Linked DNA regions of Homo sapiens: all the other regions are linked to region 4. Evidence: promoter capture Hi-C in 16 types of primary human blood cells and fetal thymus (Javierre and others, 2016). All regions are on one chromosome and are shown on one strand. Each heading gives the region's core, a stretch centred on a gene start or on the middle of the fragment in contact. The rest is flanking DNA. Distances are from core to core; before and after follow the strand shown.

What was found. Contacts are between HindIII fragments. The CHiCAGO score rates a contact against its expected background, and 5 or more counts as called.
Region 1: a fragment that was not itself captured here is called in contact with the fragment with the promoter of CCR5 in region 4 in 1 of 17 cell types (neutrophils); the score reaches 6.5 in neutrophils.
Region 2: a contact is called between a fragment that was not itself captured here and the fragment with the promoter of CCR5 in region 4, in 7 of 17 cell types (M0 macrophages, total CD8 T cells, M1 macrophages and 4 more). The highest score is 16.4, in M0 macrophages.
Region 3: a contact is called between a fragment that was not itself captured here and the fragment with the promoter of CCR5 in region 4, in 1 of 17 cell types (total B cells). The highest score is 5.7, in total B cells.

What each region holds. Positions count from the first base shown.
Region 1 is chr3:45,981,590-45,984,703 of GRCh38, forward strand. It overlaps FYCO1 (FYVE and coiled-coil domain autophagy adaptor 1), which reads right to left. Exons shown (of 18, transcript NM_024513.4): 3 at 1-87. Among named protein-coding and RNA genes, the nearest start is that of FYCO1, 13 kb to the right of the region's middle. The HindIII fragment of the contact is 2,652 bases long and covers 429-3,080 here.
Region 2 is chr3:46,097,639-46,100,872 of GRCh38, forward strand. No RefSeq gene overlaps it. Among named protein-coding and RNA genes, the nearest start is that of XCR1, 72 kb to the left of the region's middle. RefSeq lists an enhancer at 2-111. The HindIII fragment of the contact is 516 bases long and covers 1,347-1,862 here.
Region 3 is chr3:45,959,785-45,962,755 of GRCh38, forward strand. FYCO1 (FYVE and coiled-coil domain autophagy adaptor 1) reads right to left here. Exons shown (of 18, transcript NM_024513.4): 11 at 2,441-2,608. Among named protein-coding and RNA genes, the nearest start is that of CXCR6, 18 kb to the left of the region's middle. RefSeq lists an enhancer at 2,174-2,363. The HindIII fragment of the contact is 1,601 bases long and covers 623-2,223 here.
Region 4 is chr3:46,369,594-46,372,629 of GRCh38, forward strand. It overlaps CCR5 (C-C motif chemokine receptor 5), which reads left to right and starts at 1,353. Exons shown (of 2, transcript NM_001394783.1): 1 at 1,353-1,395. It overlaps CCR5AS (CCR5 antisense RNA), which reads right to left. Exons shown (of 4, transcript NR_125406.2): 3 at 1,651-1,824. The HindIII fragment of the contact is 2,671 bases long and covers 337-3,007 here.

The sequences.
Region 1 (3,114 bases), core at 505-3,004, 390 kb before region 4:
TATAAGAAAATTTATGCAAGCTGGTGCTGTCATCCGTGATGGGTTCCCCTGCTTCCTGAAATTCTTTGCTTAGTTCTGTCACAGCATCTTTAAGACAACAAATAGGAACATGTAACCAGATAGTGACTAAACTCAGACAGAGAAGCAGAAATAATCCAGGAAGCATGAGGAGCAAGTGGTCAGTGATACAAAGCACCTCTGAAACATAAAAGGGTATGTAAGTATCCATGAGATATAACTCCAAGTCAGGGAGTGTTGAAATGTCCTGAGAGCTCACAGATACTTTACAATGCTTGTTGACTGGGCACATTTCTTGTTCACCCTTGTCTGTCCACCACCCAGGGCTAGTAATTTGCATATAGTAGCTGGACAACAAATGTTTGCTGTGTGGATGAATCAATTCAGTCCCTGAATACTGACTTCCAGAAAGCTTTACCTTTATTCTAGCCACATTTCAGGTTCTTCACTATAATCCTACTGCTCATTATAGGTAAGCGCAGGATCAGAATACCCAGTATGTGCAAATAATAGTAGTGACAATCACAATTCCAACAATGACAACCGCACCTGCTTCTGTTAACTGAGTGTCCTTGAGGGGCTGGGCCTTTACATGTATTTTTCTCATTTAATATGGCATTGAGAGGCAGGGATTGCCTTATTTCGATGAATCTAAGATACAATTAATTATAATATACATTACAGTTTCAGAGCTGTTAAAATGTCAAAAAAAAAAGTACAATTTAGAATCTATGAAGTCTGCTATGATTATCCCCATTTTGCAGATGAGGAGTGTACAGAGAAATCAGAGCACTTGGCCAAAGATCATGGGTGGCAAACAGCAGAGCTGGAATAAGAACCCTGGTTTTCTCAAGAGCTGTCTAACTCCAGAGCTCACCTCTTAACTTCTAAGATAATTCACCTCCCTGTGTAGAAAAGAGGAAAACCCACCTTTGACTCTCACTCACTGCCTCTGCTGTGGGACAGAGGGACTATCGAGACACTGGATTTGGTTTAGATCCTGGAAAACCTTTTCCCAGCAGAGATGGTGGGATGTGCTTCACAAAACTATCTGCTTCTCTGGCAATTCTTAAATTCCTAAACCCTGCTCCCAAGAACCATGGTTTGAAGCAGACCTGTCCAGGACTGAAGCCAAGCCTAAGATGGCTGAAAATGTAATCAACACGACCCCTCAGGCAAAGATTAGCAAATGGTGGAGACAGGTTCTTGGGACTGATTCTTACAAGTGACTGTTGTCCACTGTACCTTGCTAGAAGTGTCTGCAATGGCTGGCACTGACAGCCAGTGAGCCAGGGGCCTGGGAGAGACAAAGAGCCTTCCTCCTCCACCCTCCTGCCTCCTCAGGCCAGGTAAACACTCGCAACCTGATCTGGGAACTCCTGAAACTTTGAAGGAGTAGACTCTGGATATGAAATATGAAATTTTCAGCTCTAATCTCTGATATTCTAAGTAATATTAGCTTTGCAGGAATTACTATTTGATTCTTTCAATAATCTTGAGAAGTGGGTGTTATCATCAAACCCACCTGGCACATGAAGGAAGCAACTGTGCGTTGGAAAGGTGAAGGGACTTGTCCAACATTTTCGAGGGTTAAAAGAGAAGCCAGAAGCTGAGCACACCCCTGCCTGACTCCAAAGTCTTTGAAACTGCTGTCACCAAGAGGATAAGTGGGCTGCCCTGCAGAGGAGTGAAGGCTGTGTACCACACAAAGATGCCTCAGTTAAGGACACTCCACTCTCATGGTAGATGCTGTAGATTTGTATGCTTATTAAGACGTTTACCAACAGATGAAAGTGGAGGGTACTGAGAAAGTGGCACCTTTCAAGAATTCCCACCAAAGTGCTCTGTGGCCTATGTAAAGGACATTGAAATCAGCCCAGGATGTTGGGGGTGGCCAGACTCAGCTGGTACATAGGATAGACAATGGTCTAGATCAGAAGCTCTACCTGAGGGTCCCCTATTTCACCCTCTTCCCTCCCAATAAGGACCTCCAGGTCTCAAAGTTATCCTCAAGAACCAGATATTGAAACACAGAAAAGACTATCTACTTTATGGAGAGACCTCTTAAAGCCAGTGGCAAACTCAGATTTGCAGAGACTGGCATTTCACTTTCTCTGCCTCTCTGTGTAGATTTAAAAAAGCATCTAATGTCTTAGCTGAAAGTAGACTAGAGTGGTTAGGAGCATAGACTGGTGCCAGGCTGTTGGTATAGAAAGTGCCCGGTGCACATGAAATGCCATGAAATTGTTAGCTATCAGAGGCCCAAGGCATGGTAGACACAAGATTAAAAGCCTGAGAAAATGTTTTTTATCTTGTTGACTTTGGAACTTCAGAATGAGAACTGCACTGTGGCCATGCTAGGCCAATGGCTCCTGGTATGGGAGATAACTGCTTGTGGTGCCCAAGCAGTTAGAAGCCTGGGCCTTTAGTCTGTCAGAAAAGTGTCACAGCGGACTCTGCAGGCATGGAGGAAGTGGTCAGCTTCAGACTGTGTAGTATCAAGTGTCCTAGAGCTCCGAAGAGCTTAAAGGTCAGCACTGGTGATGAGTGGGGATGGAAAACTTATAAAAACTCTGACCCCTGGGACAGCATCTGAAAGAGTGAAACTTGGAATTTGCAGCCAAAAAGAAAATAGTCCGTTTCTCCTGAGTCTATGAAACTTTATCTGCACCTTCCTCTGCCTTGCTTTTCTCCAGTGAGATAAGGGATACAAGTCATAGCCTCTCTCAGTGGACAACGCTGAGCTCAGGGAAGTCTGGGAGGCAGCAGGACTGGACCTACAGTGCATCCCAGGCAATGGGCCATCCGCCAGCCAGGACCCAGTTGGGCAGCAAAACAAGATAGGTGGGTCTCTGTCCTTCCTGCTCAGTGGGAGAAAGAACATTCTTTTCCAAAGAAGCCAACTTCATCAGAGCCCAGAAGTTTGGGATTTAGCCAAAGACTTAACAGGCAGCTTCAAAACACACATGTGTGCACTAATGGAAATCAGACCCAGTCCTGGAGCCGGGTGTATGATTTTGTTTACAAACTGGCTTTACAGTTCTCTGAAAGGAAACCAGGCAAGCTTTCCAAGCCTTACACAAGGTGGATATTTGA
Region 2 (3,234 bases), core at 355-2,854, 270 kb before region 4:
CCTGCATGCAGGCCTGACTTTCTAGAAAACCCTCATTTCTAGAATGAGGGGTGTGGGAGCCTTGGCTAGAGCTGTTCTGGGGCCCAGGGTCTCAAAAAGCAAGGTTCCTGTCCCCTGTGATTGCCTTGCTCCGGACCCCTATGTCTCCAGCACCAAGAGTGTCAGGGTAGACGACGGTGTGGAGCTCAGTGGAGGCGGATAAGGGGGCTGTAGTCATTTTGAAACCTTACGGTATTATAAAATAGATCATCCTTCCTGGAAGCCATGGCCTTCTGTTTTTAAACACAGGCGTTTCTAGGCTGAATTTCTGGGGCCTCCTCTATGACTCAGACTTGATTGCCTAAGAGGGTCACAATCTTTGGTACAAAATTCCAAGAAGGGTCCCTCCCAGCACATGCACATCCACATCCACCCAGGTCTTGTACACCAGCACCTCTCAAACTTTAATGCCCAAATGTATCCTCTGGAGATTTTGGTGAAAGGCAGTCTGGCTTGTGGCCTAAGACTCTGTGTCTCATAAAGCCTCCTGGTGCTGCAGCAGCTGCTGCTGCTGCTCTGAGAACTACACTTTAAAAGGCAAGGTTGTAGACTCTCTACTAACAGCTAGTGGATATTTCTTAGTTACAGCCTCTCATCTTCAAAACCTGACCCCACAATTCCAGACACTCCAGTTAGAAAGGTCAAATTAATTGTCATTTGTTACAGGATCTCACCACGAGTGTGGCTTCTCTTGGACAGGTGAGGGTAGAAGTTTCTGTTTCTCTTTGTTTTGCTTTTATTAATAACCTACTACACACAGAACTTCATTTTAGATAAAATCCTGGCCAAGACATGAACAGGTGTGTAAGTAACTCTGTGGACAGTGGGATTTACTTTCATCTGGGTTCCTGGTGGTGAATGATATCTCCATGTTTAGAGAGCACCTCTCAGTTTGATGTGGCAGTTTTTTGCTGTGGTTATGACTTTCAACATACTTCCTGCTTTTCTTGCAAAACAGAGAAGACTCACTCCTCTGTGGGAGGCCACAGCCCAAATGATTGCTGGCTTCTTCAAGGGCTGGAGCAGGGCTTGCAGGGGATTGCTGGCCTTCAGTGTGTGAGGTCTTTGGCCTTTTTCTACGTGAACATCAAGGTTAATCTATGTGGACTTGGCCTTCTGTTGGAGCAAGTTATTGCAATGCTGTTGGAGGAGCATGAGGTTCTTAGCACTTCTTAGCTTCAGATATCAAGGGAGATTCTTGTCCAACAACAACAGAAAATAGAGCCCAGCCATTTTTGTCATCAAGATTGCCAGGGTCGCATGATCTCAATGGCAATGCTCACACTTGCTAGAAATTTGGATTCATAAGCTTTTGAGTTAAACAGGGTCTGAGAATCCTTAAAGCTAACTCCTCTCTGTTTCAGAGGTGCAAACTGCTAATGAGAAAGATGCCAATCTGGTTCTTATTCTTTTTTTTTTTTTTTTTTGAGATGGAGTCTTTGTTGTCCAGGCTGGAATGCAGTGGTGTGATCTCATCTCACTGCAACCTCCACCTCCTGGGTTCAAGTGATTCTCCTGCCTCAGCCTCTGGAGTAGTTGGGATTACAGGTGCCTGCCTCCACACCCAGCTAACTTTTGTATTTTTAATAGGACGGGGTTTTGTCATGTTGGCCAAGCTGGTCTCAAACTCCTGACTTCAAGTCATCTACCTGCCTTGGCCTCCCAAAGTTGGTTCTTATTCTTTTGTTGTTTATTTGTTTCTTGTTTCTCTCTGAGAGTGTTTAGGATCTCCTTAGATTGTTGGTGCTCTGAAATTCCAAGAGGTTATTTCTATGGATCACTCTTTGTTCATTGTGCTCAGTGCTTGGGGTCTTTCAATCCAAAGCTTATATCTTTCTTCAACTCCGGGAGATTTTTTTCAATTGTTTCTTTGATAATTTTCTGCTTTCTGTTTTCCTTCTTCTCCTTTTCTGAAATTCCTGCAATGTAAATGTTGAGCCACCTAAATTGACCCTATGTATTTTTTTTCTCCAATTACCCATTTTATTTTGGTCATTTTACTCTGTATTCTGCAAGTTCTTCTTGAATTTTTAATGTATTTTTTCTGTCTTTGACTTTTGGTTTCAAAAAAATTGAATGTATTATATTTGTGATAATAAAAAGTAAATATATTTTAAAAGGGATTTAGAACAAACTCTTGGTTTTCAACTGCTCCTTTTTAATAGAAGATTTTTTTTTTTTTTTTTTTTTTTGACAGAGTCTCGGTCTGTCACCAGGCTGGAGTGCAGTGGCGTGACCTGGGCTCACTGCAACTTTTGCCTCCCGGGTTCAAGCAATTCTCCTGCCTCAGCCTCCTGAGTAGCTGGGATTACAGGTGCCCACCACCATGCCCAGATAATTTTTGTATTTTTAGTAGAGACGAGGTTTCACCATGTTGGCCAGAATGGTCTCAATCTCTTGACCTCGTGATCCACCTGCCTTGGCCTCCCAAAGTGTGGGTTTTGTTTTACGGACGTATCATCTTGGTTCTCCAAGAGGATAATTAGAGTTTAAGGTTTTTACTTAGTTCTTTTTCCTTTCCTTGTTCTACCTCCTCCAAGTTCATTTGTTCTGTTGACTTATCTTGGTCCTTTTCTTTTCCTGAGTGAATGGTGTTTGTGGCAGCTCATTTCTATTTATGCATTCTAGGTTGGGTTGTTAAGTTGAAGTAAATGGGGGACTGGGGTCCTTCTGCGAATGAGAAGGTGTGACTGTGAGCTCTCTGGCTGTGGAAGGGGGTGCTGATGGGTAAATCTTGCTTTCTTCTGTGAGAGTGGGAGAAGTCAAACCAATTCAAGGAGACCCCTGCTCTAAGATGTTACTCCCATGTTGGAAGCCTCAGCCCCTTCCAGTCAGCTTTTATTTGCTTTTTAAAAAGATTATTTCTCAAGGGTGCAAGGGTGGTAAGGGATAAAAGACTAAACACTGGGCACAGTGTACTGCTTGGGTGACAGGTGCAGCAAAATCTCAGAAATTACTACTAAAGAATCTATCCCTGTAACCACCTGTTCCCCGAAAACTATTGAAATAAAATAAAAATAAAAAAGGATTATTTTTCCAGCTTTTAAGGTAAAAGCTGCCATTTTCTGCCCATGGGATTAGGGAGAGGTGGGATGGTGAAGGCCAGTTTCCACAGCAGTTTAGGTCCAGTCATTCCATCAATCACTTCCTTTTATGCTCACCCTGGTCTTTGTACTTTCCAACCTCCAGAGGCTC
Region 3 (2,971 bases), core at 173-2,672, 410 kb before region 4:
TAAATGCAAAGAGCTGCCAGCACCAAAGAGAGCCACCACTCAGGCACCTAAACAACAGTGCTGGGGGACCACTGGGAGTTTAAGCTAAAACGTGCTGCCATGCCGACGGCGTGCAGTAAGCCCAAGGACCATGAATGTACTTCCCACCTGAATCTTAATGTGCTTGGGGCCCTTTATGTTTCTATGGTTGATCCAAGTAACAATTAATCAGTGGAGAAGATCAAAGATTTCCTAGTGTGAAAATCTGATCAGATGTTAGCCTCCTCTGCCCCTCAGAGAGATGGTAAGGTCACTCCAAGAAGCCAGACTCAAAGAAGTGTGAGGCTTTCCAGAAAGGTCTGGCAGTGTCAGAATGTGCCTGATGCACTGGAGGGGGAGGATGTGAACAGAGGCTTCCTCAGGGATACTAATGAGCATGTTCAGGCTTGATGGTTTCTGACATGTGAAGTTTAGTTCTTTCTCGTATGGAGCCCCAGCTAGCATCCTCAGGGCTAACGTGGCTCTAGCAGCACCTCAGCCACCGGTAATGTGACACCCGAGCCACTCAGGTCCTGAGAGAGACAGGCTCCATCACTGACCAGGAACTCCCAATCAACCCCAGATCTTTTGCCTTAAATAAAAAAGCTTGAACATGGGCTTGGCTGGCTTTTTCAAGGACACTTGAAATTGTCAGGAAGCAGGAAGACTCATTCTCTGAAGCAGCCTCATTCTCTAGGCTGGTCCACCCAAACTTTGGGAATGTGGAATGCTGCCAGGAGCTGGTGTTTTCCATCACACCCCTCAGGTCACAAATACCCTGAGTTCTAACTCTGTATATTGATGATAAGAAGGCAGAGTTTTTAAACTTTCAAATTGGTTATAATTTTAATATCACTGTTTTCTAACACTTAATGAATTAGCATATCTAGGCTTTGCTGATCCATGGTGCTGCTAACATCACAAAAACAGGGCTAATCAGATTGTATGTGCCTCTTGAAGGAAAGACCCCAAACTACAAACCAATTCTATGAAGGCTTCTTACCAAAATTTTGAACCTGAGTCTAAGCAAGCTGCCAGTAGAATGATGGTTCTCAGCTCTGGCTCACTGGTGTCTGAGTCTCACTCCCAGAAATTCCAATTCGGTTAGTCTTGGTGGGGCCTGGACATGGGCATTTTTAAATTACTTTCCTAGTGATTCTAATATGTAGCCAGGATTGAGAACCACTGCAATAGTTCTAACTATGGACTCACAGGAAATGCAAGGGATGGATGATCATGTTAAATGACACCATGGGGATGCAATCGGCAAAAGTAGAGAGATGATAGGGAAACCCATTGACTAAAAGGGATGTAAGAGACACAGCAATTGCAATAGATGAATCTAATTTAGATCCTGATTAGAACGACCTGAAAATATTCTAAGGCAATCGGAAAAATTTGAAACTGACTAGACACTTGATGATATTAAGAAATTATACTTCATTTTTTAAGGTGTAATAAGGACACTGTGGTTGTTTAAAATGGAGGGTTCTGGCACCAGGCATGGTGGCTCATGCCTGTACTCCCAGGACTTGGGAGGCTGAGGCAGGCAAATCATTTGGGGCCAGGAATTCAGAACCAGCCTGGCCAACATGGTGAAGCCTATTTCTACTAAAAATATAAAAATTAGCTGGGAGTGGTGGTGTGTGCCTGTAATCCCAGCTACTTGGGTGGCTGAGGCACAAGAATCGCTTGAATGCAGGAGGAAGAGGTTGCAGTGAGCCAAGATCACGCCACTGTACTCAAGCCTGGGCAACAGAGTGAGACTCTGTCTCAAAAAAAAAAAAAATTCAAAAAATAGAAAATAAAAGAGTCCTTACCTTGGAGAGGTACATATTGAAATATTTATGGATGAAATGATATGTCTGGGATTTGCTTCAAAATAATCTGGGAAGGTGGGTAAGCAGGTGGGTCTACAGATGAATCAAGACTGGCCCTGAGCTGAACACTGTTGAAGCTGGGTGACAGGTACCTGGAGGTGTATTACATGATTCCATTTTTGTATATTTGAAAATTTCCATAAGGAAAAGTTAAAATAAGTTTTGAATGACTTGTCAGCATTAAAAAATCAGGACACTTCACATTAAGATCCAGGTTTCCACCTTCTCTCAAGAAGTAAGGTGGTCTGGCAGTTCTAGGCCAAGACATATGGCAGAAGCAGAGCCCAGCTGTGTCCTCAGTTTCTCACAGTCCCCTCCTGATACAAGCTTCCACTTGTATCAGCTGCCTGGTACCTGCAGGCGCTGGAGTTTGGGACTCTAGTACTGGGGAAAGTGAGATGGAGAAGGAGAGAGGGGCTCCTGAGACAGCAGCAAGAAAGTGGGGAAATTTCTGAAGTATGCTTTCAAGAACAGCTGCATTTCTTTAGAGAAAAACCCCAGTGTGGGGAAAACCCCAGCTGCTGGTTTGACACAGCACTCACCTGAGCAGCTCTATCAGCCGCTCCTCGAGATACTTCTTGGTTCTGTTGAGGTCATCCAGGTCAGCAAGCATCTTCTGGTCATTCCTCTCACGATTTGTCACCTCCTGGCAGAGTTTGTTGTAATACTCTTGGATTTTTGTTGTGGCTTTTTCGAGTTCCTTCTGGGTCCTGGGGGAGGAGTGGTAAGTTTTCTTGATTAGCCAGGACTTCCAGCTTTCCCAGGGCTCTAAGCTCACCCAGGACTCTAATGAGGGGTGCTACTGCCCTCCGCCATGGGGGAGCCCCTTGGTATCTGCTCACAGCTTATGCAGTCCCCTAGCTTTTGAGACTCTCCTCTCACCCCCACATACAAAGGGGCATTCTGGGAGGGAAAGCAGGCTGACCCCAGGTTGCCAGAAGCACCCTAAGTGAATAGAACTCTGCACCCCTTGGCTCCTGGACAGGGGCTGGGCTTGCAAGAGAAGCCTGATAGGCAAGGCTCATGGGCTGGTGATGGGGAGGATGGGCAGGAGGAGAAAGGAGTCAGGACAG
Region 4 (3,036 bases), core at 103-2,602:
GTGAACCAATTTTATTAGGATTTGATCAAATAAACTCTCTCTGACAAAGGACTGCTGAAAGAGTAACTAAGAGTTTGATGTTTACTGAGTGCATAGTATGTGCTAGATGCTGGCCGTGGATGCCTCATAGAATCCTCCCAACAACTCATGAAATGACTACTGTCATTCAGCCCAATACCCAGACGAGAAAGCTGAGGGTAAGACAGGTTTCAAGCTTGGCAGTCTGACTACAGAGGCCACTGGCTTAGCCCCTGGGTTAGTCTGCCTCTGTAGGATTGGGGGCACGTAATTTTGCTGTTTGGGGTCTCATTTGCCTTCTTAGAGATCACAAGCCAAAGCTTTTTATTCTAGAGCCAAGGTCACGGAAGCCCAGAGGGCATCTTGTGGCTCGGGAGTAGCTCTCTGCTGTCTTCTCAGCTCTGCTGACAATACTTGAGATTTTCAGATGTCACCAACCGCCAAGAGAGCTTGATATGACTGTATATAGTATAGTCATAAAGAACCTGAACTTGACCATATACTTATGTCATGTGGAAAATTTCTCATAGCTTCAGATAGATTATATCTGGAGTGAAGAATCCTGCCACCTATGTATCTGGCATAGTGTGAGTCCTCATAAATGCTTACTGGTTTGAAGGGCAACAAAATAGTGAACAGAGTGAAAATCCCCACTAAGATCCTGGGTCCAGAAAAAGATGGGAAACCTGTTTAGCTCACCCGTGAGCCCATAGTTAAAACTCTTTAGACAACAGGTTGTTTCCGTTTACAGAGAACAATAATATTGGGTGGTGAGCATCTGTGTGGGGGTTGGGGTGGGATAGGGGATACGGGGAGAGTGGAGAAAAAGGGGACACAGGGTTAATGTGAAGTCCAGGATCCCCCTCTACATTTAAAGTTGGTTTAAGTTGGCTTTAATTAATAGCAACTCTTAAGATAATCAGAATTTTCTTAACCTTTTAGCCTTACTGTTGAAAAGCCCTGTGATCTTGTACAAATCATTTGCTTCTTGGATAGTAATTTCTTTTACTAAAATGTGGGCTTTTGACTAGATGAATGTAAATGTTCTTCTAGCTCTGATATCCTTTATTCTTTATATTTTCTAACAGATTCTGTGTAGTGGGATGAGCAGAGAACAAAAACAAAATAATCCAGTGAGAAAAGCCCGTAAATAAACCTTCAGACCAGAGATCTATTCTCTAGCTTATTTTAAGCTCAACTTAAAAAGAAGAACTGTTCTCTGATTCTTTTCGCCTTCAATACACTTAATGATTTAACTCCACCCTCCTTCAAAAGAAACAGCATTTCCTACTTTTATACTGTCTATATGATTGATTTGCACAGCTCATCTGGCCAGAAGAGCTGAGACATCCGTTCCCCTACAAGAAACTCTCCCCGGTAAGTAACCTCTCAGCTGCTTGGCCTGTTAGTTAGCTTCTGAGATGAGTAAAAGACTTTACAGGAAACCCATAGAAGACATTTGGCAAACACCAAGTGCTCATACAATTATCTTAAAATATAATCTTTAAGATAAGGAAAGGGTCACAGTTTGGAATGAGTTTCAGACGGTTATAACATCAAAGATACAAAACATGATTGTGAGTGAAAGACTTTAAAGGGAGCAATAGTATTTTAATAACTAACAATCCTTACCTCTCAAAAGAAAGATTTGCAGAGAGATGAGTCTTAGCTGAAATCTTGAAATCTTATCTTCTGCTAAGGAGAACTAAACCCTCTCCAGTGAGATGCCTTCTGAATATGTGCCCACAAGAAGTTGTGTCTAAGTCTGGTTCTCTTTTTTCTTTTTCCTCCAGACAAGAGGGAAGCCTAAAAATGGTCAAAATTAATATTAAATTACAAACGCCAAATAAAATTTTCCTCTAATATATCAGTTTCATGGCACAGTTAGTATATAATTCTTTATGGTTCAAAATTAAAAATGAGCTTTTCTAGGGGCTTCTCTCAGCTGCCTAGTCTAAGGTGCAGGGAGTTTGAGACTCACAGGGTTTAATAAGAGAAAATTCTCAGCTAGAGCAGCTGAACTTAAATAGACTAGGCAAGACAGCTGGTTATAAGACTAAACTACCCAGAATGCATGACATTCATCTGTGGTGGCAGACGAAACATTTTTTATTATATTATTTCTTGGGTATGTATGACAACTCTTAATTGTGGCAACTCAGAAACTACAAACACAAACTTCACAGAAAATGTGAGGATTTTACAATTGGCTGTTGTCATCTATGACCTTCCCTGGGACTTGGGCACCCGGCCATTTCACTCTGACTACATCATGTCACCAAACATCTGATGGTCTTGCCTTTTAATTCTCTTTTCGAGGACTGAGAGGGAGGGTAGCATGGTAGTTAAGAGTGCAGGCTTCCCGCATTCAAAATCGGTTGCTTACTAGCTGTGTGGCTTTGAGCAAGTTACTCACCCTCTCTGTGCTTCAAGGTCCTTGTCTGCAAAATGTGAAAAATATTTCCTGCCTCATAAGGTTGCCCTAAGGATTAAATGAATGAATGGGTATGATGCTTAGAACAGTGATTGGCATCCAGTATGTGCCCTCGAGGCCTCTTAATTATTACTGGCTTGCTCATAGTGCATGTTCTTTGTGGGCTAACTCTAGCGTCAATAAAAATGTTAAGACTGAGTTGCAGCCGGGCATGGTGGCTCATGCCTGTAATCCCAGCATTCTAGGAGGCTGAGGCAGGAGGATCGCTTGAGCCCAGGAGTTCGAGACCAGCCTGGGCAACATAGTGTGATCTTGTATCTATAAAAATAAACAAAATTAGCTTGGTGTGGTGGCGCCTGTAGTCCCCAGCCACTTGGAGGGGTGAGGTGAGAGGATTGCTTGAGCCCGGGATGGTCCAGGCTGCAGTGAGCCATGATCGTGCCACTGCACTCCAGCCTGGGCGACAGAGTGAGACCCTGTCTCACAACAACAACAACAACAACAAAAAGGCTGAGCTGCACCATGCTTGACCCAGTTTCTTAAAATTGTTGTCAAAGCTTCATTCACTCCATGGTGCTATAGAG